Linked DNA regions of Homo sapiens: all the other regions are linked to region 2. Evidence: promoter capture Hi-C in human tissues and cell types (Jung and others, 2019). All regions are on one chromosome and are shown on one strand. Each heading gives the region's core, a stretch centred on a gene start or on the middle of the fragment in contact. The rest is flanking DNA. Distances are from core to core; before and after follow the strand shown. Region 1 overlaps WAKMAR2 (wound and keratinocyte migration associated lncRNA 2). Region 2 holds the start of PERP (p53 apoptosis effector related to PMP22). Region 3 overlaps ARFGEF3 (ARFGEF family member 3).

What was found. The method cuts DNA at HindIII sites, captures the fragments that hold promoters and counts their contacts. A contact is called where the count stands out against the background at its distance.
Region 1: a contact is called between a fragment that was not itself captured here and the fragment with the promoter of PERP in region 2, in 1 of the 25 tissues and cell types used here (bladder).
Region 3: a fragment that was not itself captured here is called in contact with the fragment with the promoter of PERP in region 2 in 1 of the 25 tissues and cell types used here (bladder).

Annotation. Positions count from the first base shown.
Region 1 is chr6:137,859,985-137,863,140 of GRCh38, forward strand. The region is part of intron 3 of WAKMAR2 (wound and keratinocyte migration associated lncRNA 2); the gene reads right to left. Among named protein-coding and RNA genes, the nearest start is that of TNFAIP3, 5.7 kb to the right of the region's middle. The HindIII fragment of the contact is 5,917 bases long and covers 1-3,156 here.
Region 2 is chr6:138,105,674-138,108,735 of GRCh38, forward strand. It overlaps PERP (p53 apoptosis effector related to PMP22), which reads right to left and starts at 1,746. Exons shown (of 3, transcript NM_022121.5): 1 at 1,454-1,746. The coding sequence starts at 1,667. RefSeq lists a silencer at 1,875-1,924. The HindIII fragment of the contact is 18,311 bases long and covers 1-3,062 here.
Region 3 is chr6:138,306,949-138,310,071 of GRCh38, forward strand. ARFGEF3 (ARFGEF family member 3) reads left to right here. Exons shown (of 34, transcript NM_020340.5): 23 at 305-449; 24 at 1,791-1,913. Among named protein-coding and RNA genes, the nearest start is that of SMIM28, 69 kb to the right of the region's middle. The HindIII fragment of the contact is 4,091 bases long and covers 1-3,123 here.

The sequences.
Region 1 (3,156 bases), core at 453-2,952, 250 kb before region 2:
TTTAAAACTTCCAGACATTAATATGGGAAAACAGCCAACTTGCTGTAAACAAAAGAATAATAAATATTCTAAACAAAAATAAAATTCTAAGCCCCCGAACCACTGAATGGACCCCCAACTCTCAGCCGAGGGGATTTCAAAGAAACCTAAAATACTAGTTCAGGCCATGATGGGAAGGGAGGGTCGGACATGCTTCATTATACTCTCCTCTCTTTGGAATTCAGGCACAACTGACCAGCATTAACATTAAAACAGAGATCTTAAGACTGACAAAACAGACTTTTTGTAGCAATAAGATAGCAATGTGACAGGAGGCCCTGAAAGAAATCCAAGTATTTTACTTCAAAATATATTTATTTGATACATTTTGAAATGACCTGGCAAAGCTGTCTGTTGTGAGGAAACTCTCCATTCCGTAGATAATTCTCTCTCCTTTCCAGGTCTTTTCCTGATCCAGGAGATATTCAACTGAGTCTGGCACCGTTTAAGGTCTGATAGGAGATATTTACCACCTATTACTCTTTCTGAAGGCTGCTACCAGAAGGCTTCATCTTCATAACAAGAACCTTGGCCTCCACAACCCTCCTTATCTTAACCCTAAGCATTTCTGTCTTAACTCCTTAGAAAGAAACTTAACTGTTTCAACCAACTGCCAATCAGAACACCTTTGAATTCAACTATCAGCTGTAAGCCCAACACCCTCCTTGAAGTTGTCCTACCTTTCTGGACCAAATGAACATATACGTTACATACACTGATTGATGTCTGCCTATAAATTCTGTCCCCCTAAACTGTGTAAAATCAAGCTGTAACCCAACCACTGTGTTTGGATACATGTTCTCAGGACCTCCTGAGGCTATGTCATGGGTCATGGTCCTCACATTTGGCTCAGAATAAATGTCTTTAAATATTTTACAGAGATTGGCTTTTTTTTCTTTTTTCTTTTTTTTTTTTTTTTTGTTTGTCAACAGCATAGAAACATCCATACTAAACATACCTGGCAGAAGGTCAGTGCATCTCTCCCTTGCTGATGGTTATTCATTCAAACATGAAAGGAGAAAATAACTGGTTTAGTCTTTCTCAGGAACACACACTCTTTTTTTAGAGTCAGACTATTTTCTTCTTCAATGAGTTAAGTTTTACTAGAGACACTTAGTAGTATATTTGGAAACTTAAAATGTAATAGTAGTACCTCTTCTTTTCTGATCTTCTGTTTATTCCCTTACCTACCTAAAAAGATCAATCACTTACTAGGATTAACCCAACACTTAGGCTCAATCAACTGCATGAACGTGTTTGGACTCTCAAAATACTATATTTCCTCAATTTTACAACATACTTTTTTTAAACATTTAAAAATTTCTAATATAATCATTAGTTTAAATTTTTACGTAAAAAGCCTCAAATGCCAGGGAGTGAAGAGAGGTGGTTCTCATTGCCTGTGCATTTGCAAGCTTAGAAATGTCTAAAGGAAAGGTATCTTTTCATTCTTCCTCCCAATCCTTTCATTCATCTAACAAACTGTTGTTCACTGAGTGCCTGTTTTGTATCACGTACATTTCTGGGCACAGGGAGTACAGAGTACAATGATAGGCAAGCATCAATGATAGACTCTCAAAGAGTCTCATTCTAGTAGGGAAAGGTAGATGATAAACAATTGAACTGATAAATAAAGAATTTTCAATTGTGATAAATGTTACAAAGAAAGCAAGACAGAAAGATCAGGAAGTGGGGTAAGTCAGGGAGGTTTCTCTGATTAAATAACATGTAAGCAGAAAGCTGAGTGCTGAGCAGTTGCAAGGGCAGTCCCTGTAGAGAAAACAGTAAGTGCAGGGGCCCTGGGGCAAGCTGGCCTGAGCTCAGCAGAATAAGGGAACATGGAGACACCCTGTTGACTCATTTACATGGCTAGCTGAACAAGAAGTTCCATTTAACTTAAATTTGGATTTCTATCTCTTAAACAAAATATCTTTCAAAAGATACATTATGATGCTAGACTAAAGCTAACAGAGAAAAACGCAGAACTAAAGTCCATTGTTTCTGGTAAAGCAATGGCCCGTTTGGTCCCCATATAGAGATAAAGCTGTTTAAATGCATCATGGAAAAATAGGCCCACTCTCATGATGAAAGGCTTATAGGGAGCCAAATTCCTTTCCAAAGCTGTTATTAAACAGAGCATCTTTTTTTTTTTCTTTTTAATGGTTGCAGCACACCAACATGGCACAGGTATACATATGTAACAAACCTGCACGTTGTGCACATTTACCCTAGAACTTAAAGTATGATAAAAAAAAAAAATGAAAAGAGCATCTTAAAGGACTATCTCTATTTCCAGCAGACCTTCAAGAGAAGTTTAAAGGAATATGTAATGTTATAGTCAATTCTAAATTACTAAAAAGGCCAGAAGAGGCAGATTACTGCAAACAGCCTATCTGAGCACTGCAGTACACAATTGTCAAGGATCAAAATCAGCTCAGAGGAATCATAAAACTCCAAGAAGCCTTCGAATCAAACATGAATGGTGACAGTGAAGAAGAAAGAGAAATGTCATCACATCAATAAACATAGGCTAAGTGAGTAAAGGAAGAAACGTGTGTACATTTCCTACAATAAGGTTGTTCCCCTCCCAATCTTGTTATTAAATCCATAGTGTGTCTTACAAACATGGACTCTCAGAATCATAGAAATACCACAGCTCTTTCTCCAGCCTGCTAAAGTGCTTGGAATTTCCACCATTAAGCTCTAGGAAGTTCTGTAAGAACATTTTATCAAGAAATATAACACAGTAACACATCACAATCTGTTTGAAAAATGAGCATGATTTATCTTACCAGCCAGTCCCGGGAAACAGGTCTCTGAAAGAATGGAAGCCTTTCAAATTCTTTTTTTATGGAGATGGCTGGCAGCCAAAGGAGCAGGATTATAGAGACCCCAAACTAGACTGAAGGGATTGAGGGACAAATGAGAAAGGGGAATGTCAAGGCAAATTTTCACAATGGCTTGCACTATTCCAAGTAACAGGAACTAATTTATCTCAGAAACACCGGGCTTACTGCTAAAACCAACACTGCTTTCTAGCTCGTTCCTAATAACACCCATTTCTGGGCTTTCTAACATCCTATTTGGTCATTAATAGCAGCCTTCACAGAAACATAA
Region 2 (3,062 bases), core at 496-2,995:
GTCTGCATTAGTCTTTGGAGTAGGGTATAATTATCAAAGTATGTTTAAAAACACACACGCAGATCTGTTAGGTCCCCTAGAAGAGACTGAGTTCAGATGCATTTTAACTAGAAGATAGAGGTACATTATTTCAAAAAACAATTAATTCGCTTTAAAAACCTAAAACACTGGAGATGATACAAACCTGAGCTGGCACAGTGTATGGGTTTTCAGAGAAGAAAACACACAAACTGCAAAGAAAGCTGGAATTTTCTGCAGTGTTTACATTTTATTACCTGGCTAATGGGGACCATGCTTCCTTTTGTGGGGAAGTGACGTCCAAAGGATTACACAAAAGAAAGGGCACCAAGTTGCTGATATAGTCCCCCGGAAACACAAATAAACAGGATTGGGTTGGAAGCCCTGGGCCACTTCAAAGAAAAAAATCAAGTCAATGGTAATAGTAAGAAATGAAAACAGGCAGGGTAGCTTGCTGTCTGTGTTTAAAACTATTAAACCCGGTAGGTAAAGCCCATTTGGCTTTAAGGTTTTATTAGGCTCTCACAGACCCCATCTCCACCCCCACACACATTGCTAATCACAGTAGACCCCAGCTGTGATTCCCATCCACCCCCAGGAAAGGAGAGGGGGCTTCCCACTGTGAAAGAAAATGCCTTCTCAGACAAGAACTATGCTCCAGTCCTGACTTTCAGCAAGGCAAGCAGGGAGCTTCCTCCATGCTGGGAAAATGGCATACAGTACTTCACCTGCTAGGTACATTAAATTTGTCAACTCTGCTTCACGTCGCGAGTGTAGGGAATGTGTTTGCTTTTTAGATTTCAAATCGGATTAAAATAATTAAGTTTTCTAAACAACAATGCCATGCTTAAACCAAAGGACACGCCCTAGAACAAGAGCTAACAAGAACTAGCCTGACCGGTAAAGTAGACTGAAATATCTATTGAAAACGTTAACTGCTAAAACTGCCTGAAAGGGCTTTTTTAAATGAGAAAGTTTTTTCAGCTATATCAAGTTGAACGAATCCACTGATATTAGGGAAGGCACGTTATTTCAATATTTATATTTTAATCATAAGAAGAAACGAGAAGGAAGAGAAATGGGAAGAAATTTCAGGTCTCCAAGAAACTTTGTTCATTATATTTACTCATCTAAACTTGCAATGCTTGAAATAATCTTTCGTACGTAACCGACAAAACCCAGGAAAAAAACTATACAGTTTGAACTACGGCCTTTTTTTTTTTTCTGTTTCTGAGCTTGGTGTTGGCCACCCAAAGCTACTGCTGCTGCATTTGGTTCAGGTCGGATGCATGAGCCCGAGCTCGTCCTAAACAGGCATTCTGAAAAGCACTGGCTCCCCCGACCCTGTGAGGGCCCATCACGCGCGGCGGCTTTTGCAGGCCGCGGCCCCGAGGGCTTCCTGGAGGCGGCGACGGCGGCGGCGGCGGGCACTCACCGTACTCCATGAGGCTCTGACAGCCCTCCTCGTAGGACCCGCTGCCGCCGCCCTCTTGGGAGCATTTCCACCACAGCGAGGACGTCTGGCCGTGGTCGCTAGACTGCAACCAGCCGCGGCCGGCCAGCGCGATGATGTCGAAGGCGATGGCGCTGAGTAGGAGCAGGGGCAGGATCCAGCGGCAGCGCTCGCAGGCCAGGCCGCAGCGGATCATGTTGACGGGCGGCGCGGGGCCGAGCGGAGCGGAGCGGAGCGGGTCGGAGGAGCGCGCGGGACGGGCGACAGCAGAGAGTGGCCTGCGAGCGCGGGCGCCGCCACAAAAGCGAAGAGGCCGCGGGGAGGCGGCTCCCGAGGACGCCGCTCCGGGCGGCCCCACCTAGATTCCGGTGACTCAGAGCGCGCCCGCCCCGACCTGCCCTGCCGGGCCGGGGCGGGCGGGGCCGCTGGTAAACAGGCTGGGTTCTGGTGACACCGGGCGGCGGCGGAAGGCGGCCCGAGGGTCCCGCGCGTCCCACAACCCTCCAGTCCCGCTCTCCTGGCCTCTCCAGGCGCGTGTTTTGTCTTCCTGGCGCACCAACATATACACTTGTTTATCTGCACAGCGCCAGCCTAATATCTGACCCCTGATGTCGCATCGTGGGGCGGTGGTCAGCAGTGCCATATCTGAGTTTTCAGCAGTGTGAGATGGGTGTTCTAATTGCACCTGTGGATAAAGGCTGCACTCCTTTGGACGCGTGCACCCAAACCCAGAAGCCCGTCCCTGACCCCTGCTGACACAGGTGATCCCTTCCTCCTAGGCTCCGCCTTTGCACCTTGGACCGTGGCTCCCCGGGTACTCTTATCTCTTTGCATGCTGTTCTTTCCTGCTGGGTTGCCAGATTTTGGAAAGCGGAGGCGATGCTGAATTTATCTGTGTATCCTTAGTGTCCGGCACCGTGTTTGGATCTCAAGGGGAGCTCAGTGAATTTGATGAATGAACATGTAATTTAACAAATGCTCGCTTCCTTTCGGAAAGGCTTCATCTGGCTTCCCCAGATAATTTCATGTCGCCTCTGCTGCAGTCCACTTCCTATCACGAATCTCTACCTATTTAAACTGCACTCTCTCTACTCTTCATTTACTATTTTGAGGTTTTTCCAAATAAAAATCATACGTCAGCATGCAACCTGCATTTAGGATCCCCCCTTCGGTGTCCTGGGCTAGCTCCCGTCGCAGTTCTGACTCCTAAGATGTGACAGGAAGGGTGGGGTGGCAGCCAGGTGTGCCGCTGAGGACAAAGGAGTTCTCAGTGTCAGGCACCTCGGTGGCCTTGGGAAAATCACTGAAACATCGTATGGGGGTCATGTCTTAACCCTGTACCTCCAAAGATTTCTTCTGAATCCCCTATTTTTTCTGTTAATTTAATATAAAAGTGGGAACTACTTAAAAATATTTTAAATTGTATTCCAATTTGATATTCTCAATAGAAACAGAATACTCTTTTGACTTATGCCATTTTCTGGCAATTCTTGAGGACGAATAAAAGCATGGAGAAAGTATCTGAAAATACATGAAATAATTTCCCTAGCCTTCATTTTACATAATTCAAGTTTTACATAAACCACGTCAT
Region 3 (3,123 bases), core at 411-2,910, 200 kb after region 2:
ACTCTAAAAAAAAAAAAAAAAAAGAAAATAACAAGAAGACATGAACCCAATTTTTAAAAACAACAAAATATTTGGCTAATAAGATGTGAAAAGTTGCTTTGCAGCATTAGTCATTAGTGAAATGCAAATTAATACAATACGGCTGATTATTCAGAAGATTTTTGAGTGAGTTTGTCTATTCTGGTTTTTCCTTTTCACTAAAATTAACTCCAAAATAGGGGACAGAGAAATACATCACCCTTCCCAGAAATTCTGCTCCTTTTAAGGAGAGGGCTTTAAGTGCCACTTGCTTTGCCTCTACCAGGTTGTCACATCCATTGGTGAGCTGGTTGAAGTGTGTTCCACGCAGATCCAGTCGGGATGGAGACCCTTGTTCAGTGCCCTGGAAACAGTGCATGGCGGGAACAAGTCAGAGATGAAGGAGTACCTGGTTGGTGACTACTCCATGGGTAAGAATGTTTGGATGATTCTTGCTATTCAGCATTAATTCTCTGTGCCAAGTTTCATGCTATTAAAAAAAAAAAATTGAACAATAGGGAAGACAGATTGTCAGCCATGTTTTATCAGCAGGAAAGAATGTGGTGTAGCAGGAACATGAGTCCTGAGTTCTGCCAGCAGGCTGAGAGCCCTGAGCATTGTCAGGCCCTGTTCTTGCTGACAATTGGACAATAAGGCTGAGAGACTTCTGTTGTTTCACTTACACATTGCTGTGTTGAGTTCACGTCTAAAGCCAAAAAGAAAAATGTTATCCATTTGCTAGTAAGAAGCAGAAAAGTATCATAACACAGAGTAACCAGAATTAGGGAGATTCGGTCTGCTGGAAATGGATGGGTACCCATAAAGCATGCCCAGGGCCCAGGGGTGTTGTCTCAGAGGTTCCCAAGACCACCCCTAAACTCAGAAACCCACCAGAAAGACTCATGGGACCCAGCATATAGTTATGTTGAGATTTATTACACAGCTCGTGACTAAGTTTTAGCAACGTAGGAAGGACACAACAGGTTATGACACAGACAGAGTCTGGAAGAATCTATGCACCAGCTTCCCTGTGCTCTCGCCCTCCCAGGAGGGATCACACAGAAGACATTCTTCCCCCAGCAGTGAAAACACAGCAACATGTTTGCAATGTTTCTGCCTGTTGAAGCCCATTAGAGATCTAGCTGGGGACTGGCCACTTACATACCCTTTGCCTAGCACATTACCAAAATCCCAGACTCCCAACAGGAAAGCAGGTGTTCACCATAAACCGTATGGTTTGTATGAACAGTCTAGGCACGGTGAACTACTCTTATCAGTTAACTGTGGCCTGGGAGTACTCTGAGAGCTGAGTTCCCAGACACCCGCCAAAGGCCAATTTTGCAAGCAAGCTTTCTAAAAGAAAAGTGGTCTCAGGCCTTCTGTGCTCTTTTTCTGCATAGATATAAAGAAACTCATATATGCCACCAAAGGTCTATCTAAACCTGCCCTGCTGTGCCCTGTAGATAATCTACAAATACCTGTGCAGGAGCATTCCAGAGGCCACATGGTTCCCTGCTCTATAGACCAGCACATTGCCTCAGCTCTGCACTCGGCCAGCTCAGCCCTCATCTCTCTGCCGAGCTGCTCCCCTGCCGGCAGAGCTGAGCACCATGCTGGAGCCAAGCCAATGGCCCAATAAAAAACCCAGGCATCTCCCCAGTAGATCTTTCTCAAGATCTGTCTCAGTGGAACGTGCTGGGAATATGGGCAACCCTGGCAAACCCGAGGGCAGAAACTTACTTTCTTACAATTCTATAATCTTCCTCCCTTAGGAAAAGGCCAAGCTCCAGTGTTTGATGTATTTGAAGCTTTTCTCAATACTGACAACATCCAGGTCTTTGCTAATGCAGCCACTAGCTACATCATGTGCCTTATGAAGTTTGTCAAAGGACTGGGTAAGCAGAACCCTTCTCTCATGCCTTGTAACTGCTGAGGACCCTTTCCAGGGTGGCTCTGTGGCTGGAGACAGGGCCTACTGACTGTCTGGAACAAGCACGCATCCTGGGGTACAAGCAGATGGTGGTGTTGTGTACTCAAAAGCAAAAACTTACTGTGAAAGAAGCTTGAATTTTGTGTAAGGTTGATACTTTTCATTGTATTCATGGAATATCTTATAGCATATTTTTAATCTATTTATTTATTATTTTATACTAACTTTATTGTCAAAGAATAATATCAACCTTGTATTTTCCCTTTGTAAAAGGTTCTCGGGCTCCAGGTCTAATCACACTCTATGGAAACTCTCAAAATTTTAAGTTTCTTCTAAACCTTTTGGTTTAACTAAGTGTCCTTCCCTTTCATTTCACCCTACATAAACCTGTGCTATATAAAAATCTCCTATTGCAGGTCATGTTGTATAGTGAGAATATATTTTGTTAAGGTGTTTCTAAATTAAGTATAAAATCATCTGGGTAGTTTCTGAAATACACGAGGCTTTCAAGAAGGGGGACTTCTATACTTAGAAAATATATTTTATAATTAATTAAGCCTGGGGTAGGAGGAATTCTTAACTTTTGCTAAAAAGTTGGGAAATCAAACTCAAGCTGCTAATCATATGACACTGAGAATAGGTTTCTGCATAAGGGCAATTATTTAATATAATATTGACTAATCTAAGGTTGGAAATCTTAGAACATTCCTACAATTATGGAGGCTGAGAAGTCCCACGATAGACCATCTGCAAGCTGGAAAACCAAGGAAGCCGATAACATGGCTCAGTTCAAGTTCAAAGGCCTCAGAATGAGGGGCACTGATGGTGTAACTCTTAATCCAAAGCCAGAGGCTCGAGAACCTGTAGTTCTAAGACAAGAGAAGGATATCCCAGCTCCAGAGACAGAGACACAGAGAATTCTCCTTTTCTCTGCCTTTTGTTCTCCTGGGCCTTGGCTGATTAGATGGTGTCTGCCTACACTGGGTGAGGGTGGAGCTCCCTTACTCAGTCTGATTCAAATGCCAGCCTCTTCCAGAACCAACCTCACAGACACACCCAGAAATCATGCTCTATCAGTGATCTGGGTCTCCCCTAATCCAGCCAAGTTGACATCTAAAATAAACCATCACATAGAGGACATTGAAAACAGCCTGTGTTTTCTTCTGTGAATTCTA